3 separate regions of the Homo sapiens genome follow, and regions 1 and 2 are each linked to region 3. The links are contacts of gene promoters, found by promoter capture Hi-C in blood cells and fetal thymus (Javierre and others, 2016). All regions are on one chromosome and are shown on one strand. The core of a region is centred on a gene start or on the middle of the fragment in contact, and the rest is flanking DNA. Distances in the headings are between cores, read along the strand shown. Region 1 overlaps RAD51B (RAD51 paralog B). Region 2 overlaps RAD51B (RAD51 paralog B). Region 3 holds the start of GALNT16 (polypeptide N-acetylgalactosaminyltransferase 16).

Evidence for each region. The method cuts DNA at HindIII sites, captures the fragments that hold promoters and counts their contacts. A CHiCAGO score of 5 or more calls a contact.
Region 1: a contact is called between a fragment that was not itself captured here and the fragment with the promoter of GALNT16 in region 3, in 1 of 17 cell types (neutrophils). The highest score is 6.1, in neutrophils.
Region 2: a fragment that was not itself captured here is called in contact with the fragment with the promoter of GALNT16 in region 3 in 1 of 17 cell types (non-activated CD4 T cells); the score reaches 5.1 in non-activated CD4 T cells.

The regions. Positions count from the first base shown.
Region 1 is chr14:68,032,064-68,035,351 of GRCh38, reverse strand. The region is part of intron 7 of RAD51B (RAD51 paralog B); the gene reads right to left. Among named protein-coding and RNA genes, the nearest start is that of RAD51B, 210 kb to the right of the region's middle. The HindIII fragment of the contact is 5,207 bases long and covers 1-3,288 here.
Region 2 is chr14:67,879,114-67,882,382 of GRCh38, reverse strand. The region is part of intron 5 of RAD51B (RAD51 paralog B); the gene reads right to left. Among named protein-coding and RNA genes, the nearest start is that of RAD51B, 61 kb to the right of the region's middle. The HindIII fragment of the contact is 939 bases long and covers 1,226-2,164 here.
Region 3 is chr14:69,258,841-69,261,928 of GRCh38, reverse strand. GALNT16 (polypeptide N-acetylgalactosaminyltransferase 16) reads right to left here and starts at 1,771. Exons shown (of 15, transcript NM_001168368.2): 1 at 1,462-1,771. The coding sequence starts at 1,638. GALNT16-AS1 (GALNT16 and EXD2 antisense RNA 1) reads left to right here and starts at 1,402. Exons shown (of 4, transcript NR_184249.1): 1 at 1,402-1,639. RefSeq lists a silencer at 666-725. The HindIII fragment of the contact is 12,811 bases long and covers 1-3,088 here.

The DNA of each region.
Region 1 (3,288 bases), core at 696-3,195, 1.2 Mb after region 3:
GAATTAATTTTCCTTTTATCAGTTTATGTTTTCACAGAGTATTTGGGCATATACATAAAACACAAACAACTCATTTTTGAACACTGTAAAACGAACATCCTGCCAATCTTCCAAACAAACATCTTAAGTTATTTTTAAAAAGAGAAAGAAAAGAAAAAAGTCAGAATCTGTAAATAAGATAAAACAATAAAATCCATGAGTATAATCCACAGAAATCCATGAGTATAATCCACAGAAACAATCCACAGTCTAATTTCTATACGGGAAAAGAACTGGGTAAATTAAGTTAGCAAGAGTCCAAAAGAACCAGAGGTTATACTGTAACCAGGAAGATCCTTCCACAGTACACATCTGGTATATATTTAAGTTTGGAAGACCAAAGTTAATTCCCTTCAGTCAAATCCTCCTCTTATTTCTGCTTGAAATCCAAGGTGCATGGTGATAAATGTGCACAATTTGCCTAATTTGCAATATTAGACATCCCAATCCCTTCAGATAAGCCCTCCAGAAATTGAGAAACTGAAATGGCTTACTATTTTTCCCTGAAGAACTTTTGCCTTGGGAATGTCATTACCCTAACTTTCTATATAATCTTCGTCTGGGTAACTTAAAACAAGAGATTTACCTTTTTTGCTAAAAGTGGTATTTGTATCTGCCTGAAATGATGAACAAGGGACATCCATTATTTAATTAACTCTATTTGATGTGAATTTTGTATCAAATGGGGTTATATAAATAAACTATCTTTTCAACATTCTTATTGTAGGCTTAAGAAGACAAATAGGCTGGGCACAATGGCTCACATTTGCAATACTTGTACTTTGGGAGGCCAAGGCATGAGGATCACTTGAGCCCAAGAGTTCGAGACCAGCCTTGGAAACACAGTGAGACTCTGACTCCACAAAATACAAAATTAACTGGGCATGGTGGCAAGCACCTGTAGTCCCAGCTACTCAGGAGCCTGAAGTAGGAGGATTGCTTGAGCCCAGGAGGTAGAGGCTGCAGTAAGCTGTGAGTGTACCACTGCACTCCAACCTGGGTAATAGAGCAAGACCATGTTCCCACCCCACCACCAAAAAAAAAAAAAGCAGATGATTCTTACTGATCTTAAAACGTGTCTAATCTATTCTGGGTCAGATAAGAACTCTGACAAATCCTGTATTCCAGTAGTATGAAAAGTCAGTAATTGCAAAATGAGAAATATTTCCAATTATTTTTTATCCAAGGTGCACCAAAAAAATGAACAAAATCCCCCCCAAAGCTACATTAACAACTGGTAAAATATAGTCAGTGGTCACCTAAGAAGGGCAAGGAAAATTAACATATAGTGATTCATTTGTATCTCAGATTTTGTTTTTTTAAAAAGACTACTTTCTTAGGAACAACAATCAAATGACTGTGATTGTTCCTAAGAAACAATCAAACTCAGTCAATATCAACTACCTTCCATCATCTGTCACAAATAAACTTGAAGAAAATGCATCTTAACTGACAGTTTATGTTTCAGCTTTTCAGAACATTCATTCATCCCTGTCTGGGATGATTCAGCCCCATAGCCTACTTTGGCTCAATGGTGACTGGGAAAAAGAGGATCATTAATTTATCAACAGGTTCCACTTGAGCCATCTCCAAGCAGTCTGCGGGAAGGGCTGTGAAGTGGTCAAAACAGTGGAAGCCATAGCCTTCTGCCCTCCTCATGCTTTCTATGTAGCTTGTTGGAAAACCAGGCAGCTCAGTGAGTTTCGTTATCTTTCAGGATACACTGAATTGAAAACTGCATGATTTATCTCAACTCAACTTCTAGTTGAAAATTTCACAAAATTATCTATGTAAATGTTGTCCAAATACAGCTGGAAAAATGAATAAGAGTTGGCAGAAGTGCTGATATTAAGTGACACTTTATACTTAAAAGCATCCAAATAGAAAAAAAAAAGATTTGATGTTTGTAGTCTGGAATAAAAACAAACATAAAGAGATTTTAAAATTAGGGAATGTGTGAAGATAGAAAAATAAGAGCATGTGCTGAAAAGCAGCATTATTATTTTCCACATTTACTTATGTTTAAAGAAATATTCAAAGTTAAATACAGGAATACCATATGTAGTTCTAAACCCTAACATGTTATATAGGATGATTTTTCTCTTGCTTTAATTATTTAACAACATTTAACAAAATTTTAATGGGTGTCTACTATAGGCCAGGCATTGTGGTAGAGAATGAAAAAGACATGGCTCCTGCCTTCTGGAATCTTGGGGGGAGATAAGGAACTGTAAAATGTCATGAGCACCATGATGATACGGTAATAAAGAACAGACCACAGAAGTACCTAGCCTAAGCGAAGGTCACTCAAGGAAGTAAAGTTTAGGTTGAAACCAGAGGCCAAGTAGCAATGATCCCCAAGAAGGATCAGGAAGGCAGCAGAGGAACACTATGTGGAAAAGCTGAAATAAGAGATCTGAATGAAACTGAAAGAAACTCATCAGAGCTAGGGCATGCACAGGGTAATAGTGGTATAAGATAGAGCTGAAAGAAGAGATAAATAAGACCTGATCAAGAAGAGCTCTGCCCTAAGAGCAAGAAAACTCATTAGAATGTTTATAAAGGGAAATAACATTTCTTGTTATCACTCTATCTATAGTGTGGAGTATGGAATAGTGTGGCAAAGGGGAGAATAGTAGAAGGCTATTGTCACAATACTGTGTGAGATGATAGTGCCTTGGACTGAAATGGTAGCACCCAAAGAAGAGATGTAGAAAAATTTAGGAACTATTTAGGCAGCAGAATTATCAGAACTCTGTTTGATGATTAAATGTAGAGAGGGCAAAAGAACAAGGGCATCTGCTATTTTTCTGATTTGAGCCATGATAGATGAACTTATTGGAAGCAGAGCAAATTTGGAGAGAAAGGGGTGGAAAAGAAATAAGATTAAAAATAAAATTTGAAATGCTTGGGAAGCCAGGCTGATGTGAGAGCCAAAATAAATAGGAGATAAAAAGTGGAGAATAGCTGTGATGGTGAAGAGAGAGAGAGAGTGCTAAATACTGAAGTAGTAGAACAATTTCTTAAGACAAGAGACTCTTAATAAGGTTAGGAGCCACTAGAAAGGGAGGTAAAAATAATGCAAGGACCTTTATTTTGCATGCTTACTGTGTACCTGCTATGCTTAGCACTTTAAAGATATCACTTTTGATCTTCACGACAACTCCATGACCTAGGTATTATTATCTTCAACACACAAGAAAACTGAGGCTGAGAGATACATAATTTGCCCAAGATTTCATAGTAACA
Region 2 (3,269 bases), core at 446-2,945, 1.4 Mb after region 3:
AAGCCTAGAAGTTAAAATGATGAGGAGGATCCAGCAAAAGGGACTGAGAGGAGGAGGTGACCAAGAAGGTAGGTGTAAAAGAAGAGAGAATAGTTCCAAGAAGCCAAGTGGGCTGGGCATGGTGGCTCATGCCTATAATCCCAACACTTTAGGAGGCCAAGGCAGGAGGATCTCTTGAGCCCAGAAGTTTAAGACCAACCAGGGCAACATACCAAAACCTTATCTGTACTAAAAATTAAAAAATTAGCTGGGCATGGTGGCATATGCCTGTGGTCCCAGCTACTCGAGAGGCTGAGGTGAGAGGATTGCTTGAGTCTGAGGGGTCAAAGCTGCAGTGAACCATGATAGCACCACTGTACTCCAGCCTGGGTGACAGAGTTAGGTGAGAACCTGTCTAAAAAAATAAAAAGTCAAGGGAAGAGAGCTTTTCAAGAAAAAGTGAGTGATCAACTCTTTCGAATGCTGCTATTGGGTTGGATAAAATTTTTTAAATCAGTTGCATTATAGAGCTGGAAACTTAAGCCTGGATAGAGTGAACTCAAGAGAGAATGAAAGAAGGGATTTCCACTTTAGCCCACAAAGGATTAACTGGTACATGAATTGCACTAAAATAATAAGTAGAAAATCAGACAGAATACATGAAATAAGAGTTTTCAGGTACTGAACAATAGAAAGCTTGAGACTGTAATCCTTGAGAGAAAGGAAACAAACACAATGAGCTTACAATCACCTCAGTTTGCTCCAGAGGCAGTTTCCAGGCTGCAACACAAGAAAGGGAAAGTAAACAGAGCCTGGTAGACAACCTGAGTTGAGGAGATGGGGATCGGAGTTTGGGAAAGCTAAGGTGGCTAGAACTTATGGGGCAGAGTACCAGAGAGGAAGCAGGTGTGCAGAGTGAGCACTGCAAAGATCTGCAGAGAGGGCCACTTGAGAACTAATCTGCACATGTGTGAAGGGAAACTACTTGAGGTTGAGGAAAGAACCACCAGAAAGTATCAGACTGAACACTTCCTAGTGCCCACACAGGGTGAGAACAGTTCGGGTTTACACAAGGTGAAGAATAAAGAGACCTTATTATACACTGGGCATTGGGCAGAATTTTCAGAAGGATTTTACCTTAGTAGTGAAGCTAAATAAGTTTCAGAATAAAAAACCACAGTCATGTGCTGCATAACGACATTTCAGTCAATGATGCATCACTTATACAACAGTGGTCCCATAAGCTTATATAGTATATTTTTACAATACCTTTCCTTTGTTTAGATACACAAATACTTACCATTGTGTTGTAATTGCCTATTCAATACAGTAACATGCTGTACAGGTTCATAGCCTAGAAGCAATAGGCTATACCATATAGTCTAGGTGCGCAGTAGGCTATACCATCTAGGTGCATGTAAGTACACTGTAGGGTGTTCATACAACAATGAAATTGCCTAACAATGCATTTCTCAGAACATATCCCAATTGTTAAGCGAAGCATGACTGTACCTGGGATTTTTCCATAACAACATAGAAAAGCAACCTGCAAAAGGATCAAACTAATACTAAAATGTACCTTAAAACAAAACCTAACACTCTTGAAAAACATATGTTAAAATCCAGCACCCACCAACAACGTAAAATTTACAATGTTTAACATCGAATTGAAAAATTACCAGACAAGTAAAGGAAGAGGAAAAGATCCATTACCAGGAGAAAAATCAGTCAATAAAAACAGATTTAAAAAATTATATATATGATGGCATTCATGGATAAAAACCTCAAAACGGCTATTATTAATCTTCTACATTTGCTCAAGGAGTTAAATAAAGCAGGGGTTGTCAAACTGTGCACTATGGCCCATTGCCTGTTTTTGTCAATAGAGTTTTATTAGAACACAGACATATTTTTAATATTCTGTTTGACAAAATAGAAGCACTTCTACTACATTCTGAAGTACAACCATTGTCTCAAGGAAAAACATCTGTACAATTGGGTTCTCAGACTAAGAAGTCACTTTTTCCATGGGAGACCATTTTTACTTGAAAGAATGATTGATAGATAAGTTATGGTTTTTCTGACTTAAGTATTTGGTAGACGTTTTCTCAAAATGAGCAAAGTAAGCCCGACACTTCAAGAAAAACAAGTGGCAATATTTATTGCCAATGATAAAATTCAAGCTTTTAATGAAAAATCAGATTCCTAAAAAACTTACATCTGCTACCATGAGTTTGACTGCATCCCAATACTTAAATACTTTTTGTTCAGATCAGTGGAGATACTAATGAAATTTTTTTATATTGAGTAATAAAATGTGTCAACATTTAGAACTCCATAAGACAGTGAACCAATATTTTCTGAGTGATAAATGCATAATATTACAAAATCATGCATAGGTAAATATCCATTAAGAGCCTAAGACAGATGAATAGATTTTAATGTAACTGTAGAAAAAATGCAATAATATGGTTTCAGATTCTATATCACAACTAACCTCTAAGCAACTATTACTCAATTCCTGGTGTAGTATCAAAGAAGCATATCTTTAATTATCTGAAGAGACTATTAAAATATTCCTCCCTTTCCAACTATAACCAGTATAAGGCCAGATCTTCATATCTCAACCAAAACAACAGAGTGCAACAGACTGAATGCAGAAGCAGATATTAGAATCAGGCTGTCTTCTATTAAGTCAGACACTAAAGAGATTTGCAAAAACATAAAACAACGCCACTCTTTTTTCACTTTTTTTAGTCAAAAATGTATTTATTTTCCATAAAAAATACATGTAAAGTCCAGGTGCAGTGGCTCACATCTGTAGTCCCAGCTACTCAGGAGGCTGAGGCAGGAGGCTCTCTTAAGTCCGGGAGCTGGAGGTTACAGTGAACTATGATCATGTCACTGCACTCCAGCCTGGGTGACAGAGCGAGGCCCTGTCTCTTAAAAAAAAAACAAAAAACAAACAAAAAATATATGACAGTCAGTTTTGTGTCAACTTGGCTAGTCCACAGTCTCCTGTTATTCAATCAAACACTAATCTATGCATTGTTATGAAAGGATTTTGTAGATGTCATTAATGTCCATAAACAGATGACTTTAAGTACTAGAGATTATCCTACATAATCTGGGTGGGCTAATTCAATCACTTGAAAAGCCTTAACAGCAGAGCTGAGACTTCCTTTAAAAAGATGAAATTCCACCTATGGACTACAGCTTAGGCCCTTGCCTGAGAGTTCTAGCCTGCCCTTTCCAACAGCCTGCCCTATGGATTTCAGACAACTCCACAT
Region 3 (3,088 bases), core at 522-3,021:
AAGTGCTTTGGAAACAGTGTCCTGGGAGAACAGCCCAGAAGGGAACAGTGCACCTAATCAGGCTTGCCCCCAGAGAGTTCACCCAGACTGGTATCTAGGACAAAACCCACAACCTCACCCCCCCGCCCCAGGTCTCCTCAGGCAAAGCCCTGAAATAATGTTTCCTTTGCAGGGGACTCGGAATCTGGGGCAGGATGGGAATATGAGGGGACACTCTCCAATGAACTTCCCGATATTCCTGGGGTTCAGATCCGCGTCTGGATGCGTTTCTCGGATTCGGCTCCACACAAGCCTCAGCCCTCCGGACCTTGCACCTCCCCCGCGGATCTCCTCACCCCTCCACCCCCAGGCCCAGATCTTTCCTTGTCGGAATCGCCACGCTTCCTCACTCCTTTACCCCCGCCCCACTCGGCTCTCCTCTTCCTGGTCCTCATCCGGCCAGGCTGCCCCGCCCTGGTAGTTCCCGAGGGTCGTCCGAGGCTCTCGTCCACCAACCGCCCCCGTCTGGAAGAATGCGCCCGCTCGAGCGCACTCTCGGCGGGTGCCAAAGCCTCCCGCCTCAACAGGTGCCCCTGCCTGGCCACGCACAGCTCTGTCACCTGGGGCTCGGACGGAGACGGCGACAGGATCGCCCCCTGCAGGGCGGCTGCGGCTCCGCACGCCCCCGCCCGGGTCCCCAGAGCGCCAAGGGCCCCCGCAGCCCCGCCGCCGCCCCCGCTGTGCCACACTGCCTTTGTTTCCCTGCCCGCTTAGATGTCGCGAGGCTGACTTCATGCAAGGGTATCGCCAAGTTCGGGCGCTGACACTGCCCACCTACCCGTGGTGGCGGACCCTAAGGTTGGGAGTGAGAGACGCGTACAGTGCGAGACCTCTCCTCAACCCAGAGAACTCCGGGGAAGCTGGGTGTCCGCGCCGAAGAAGCGGGTTCAAGTTGACCCGGCTCAGAAGGGGGTTCGAAGCCAGGCGCAGCGCCTAGAGAGCCTTCCCCTACCCACGCCCCCACCCGATGTCCTCTGCCCCCAGAAGGCTGGAGAGGGGCTGCGCACTGCCACCTACGCGCTCGGCTGCGAGTGGTTCCCACCGCCCGCTCGCCGCGCGCTGGGCCCGGCAGCCTTCCGGGGCACACGAGGCTCCCGCAGCCCCCAGACTCCCGGCCCCGGCAGCGCAGAGCCGGGAGAGCCGCCACGTTCCCAGCCGCGCGCGCACGCCGGGCCCACCAAACTTGCAGCACTTTCTCCCAGCCCCCACCCTCTGTCACCCTCCCTTAGTCGGTGCGCCCCAGCCCCGCCGCCCGGCAGAGGTTGCCATAACAACGGGCAGGAATGCTCCAACATATACAAAGCCGGCCCGGCGCAGCGGGCACTCAGCCCTGGCCGGGCCCCGCGCCCTCGGCCGCCGCGCAGGGTCTGGACGCGCGCCGCGGCTCCCTAGCCGGCCGGCCGACGCTCGGGGCGTACTCACAATGAGCGGGATGGTGCGGTCCTCGCGGAGCTGCTCCGACCTCCTGCCTGCCCTCTGCGCGCCCCGGCCGCCGGAGGATGCTGCGTGGGCTCGGTTGTCCTGCCATAAGTAGTAGAAAGTGCCCAGGATCCAGGCTACGGTCAGGATGGCGATGGCATTGGCGCGGATCTTCCTCATGGTGGGCAGACGGGCGCCCCAGGTGGGGGACTGGGCCGGCGTGCTCTCGGGGCCGGGGCGGGGGCGCTCGCAGCCCCAGCTGTTTGTTTTCGCTCGCGCCTAGCTGCTCAGTCCTGCAGAGCAGAAAAAGGAGAGAGGTGGGGGGGCGGGGGGGTGATAGGGAGAGACAGGATCGCGGAGCGATCCTCACGGTCCTAATGCCCTTCAGCCCCGAGCGCGCGCGTCCCCCGGGCGCCCATTCATTCGTGCGCAGGGCCGGCCCCGCGCTCCAGCCGCCGCCGGCTGACCCACCAGGCCACTGCGCACTGGGAGAGAAGCGCGCCGAGTGGGAAGCGGCGCGGGCCTTCCTCCCGCGCCCGGGAACCCGGCGAGACAGACGCCCGCGGCGGAATGGCGACTGGCCAAAGCCAGCCTCGGCTCCCACCGCTAGGTGACCGAACGCCCGGCAGCTGCCCCCGCGCGGCCCTGGTCGGTCCTGCCGACCCACACCCACCCCCGGACCGAGCGGCCTTGAGTCACCGACTGGAGACGCGCGACCCCCGACCTGGGCCCGCGCCGCGAGCTGCAGTTCCGGGCTGCGCTCTGGCGCGGGATTCAAGGTGTGTTCGGCGAGTCCTTGTGTAGGGGCGGCTGGGCGGGGGAGAGTCCTGAGTTTGTACTGGAATCTGCAGCTGAGATTAGCCAGACCGGGCCCGCCCAGAGGAGGGATTGGAAGCTGGTGCACTTGACATTCGAAGAGCGCGAAGGGGAAACGACGCTGCCTCACACCCAGTGCTAGGAGAGTGCGGGTACGGCCCTTCCACATTTTTCGCTGGCCTGGGGCTCCCAGATTTCACGATGCTTCCCTCTATCCCGCCTCATTGACCCCTGGACAACCCTGAAATATCATCGTCAGCATTATTTCATCGGAAAGAAGGGCAGCAAGAGAGGCCGGATGATTCTCCCAAGGCCACACAGCTAATTAGTGGGCAGAGCCCAGTCTAGAAGCCATCTCACCATCTGACACCTTTCGACAAAGTGCAAAACGCGGTGGTGAGAGACGAGGACACAGACATTAAGATTCCGCTCCAGCCCTAGAGGCACTGAGAATCAGAACGTGAACTACTCTTCACTCCAGGCAGAAAGCAAGAGGCTTGGATGAGTTTTAGGAAACCAGCACAGTGTCGGGCACAGAGCGCTCAATGAATAGATGTGTAACAACAAAGTAGGGATCCAACAGAGGAAGAAATAATTTATTGTAAGGTGGCCTTTGGGAAAGCTCTCAGAAAGGTGGATGAATCACTTAAGAGGTAAGGAAGGGGGAGGTGAGGACAGGGGAGAGACTGCAGAAATAGGCCTTGCAAAAATCCAGAGGATGGAAGAGCTTGATGTGTTCAAGAGAGAGAGCTGCCAGGCGTTGCAGGGGGCCTAGGATTTGATAGGAGTTGAGGTTGGCCAGGCTGGGTGAGTC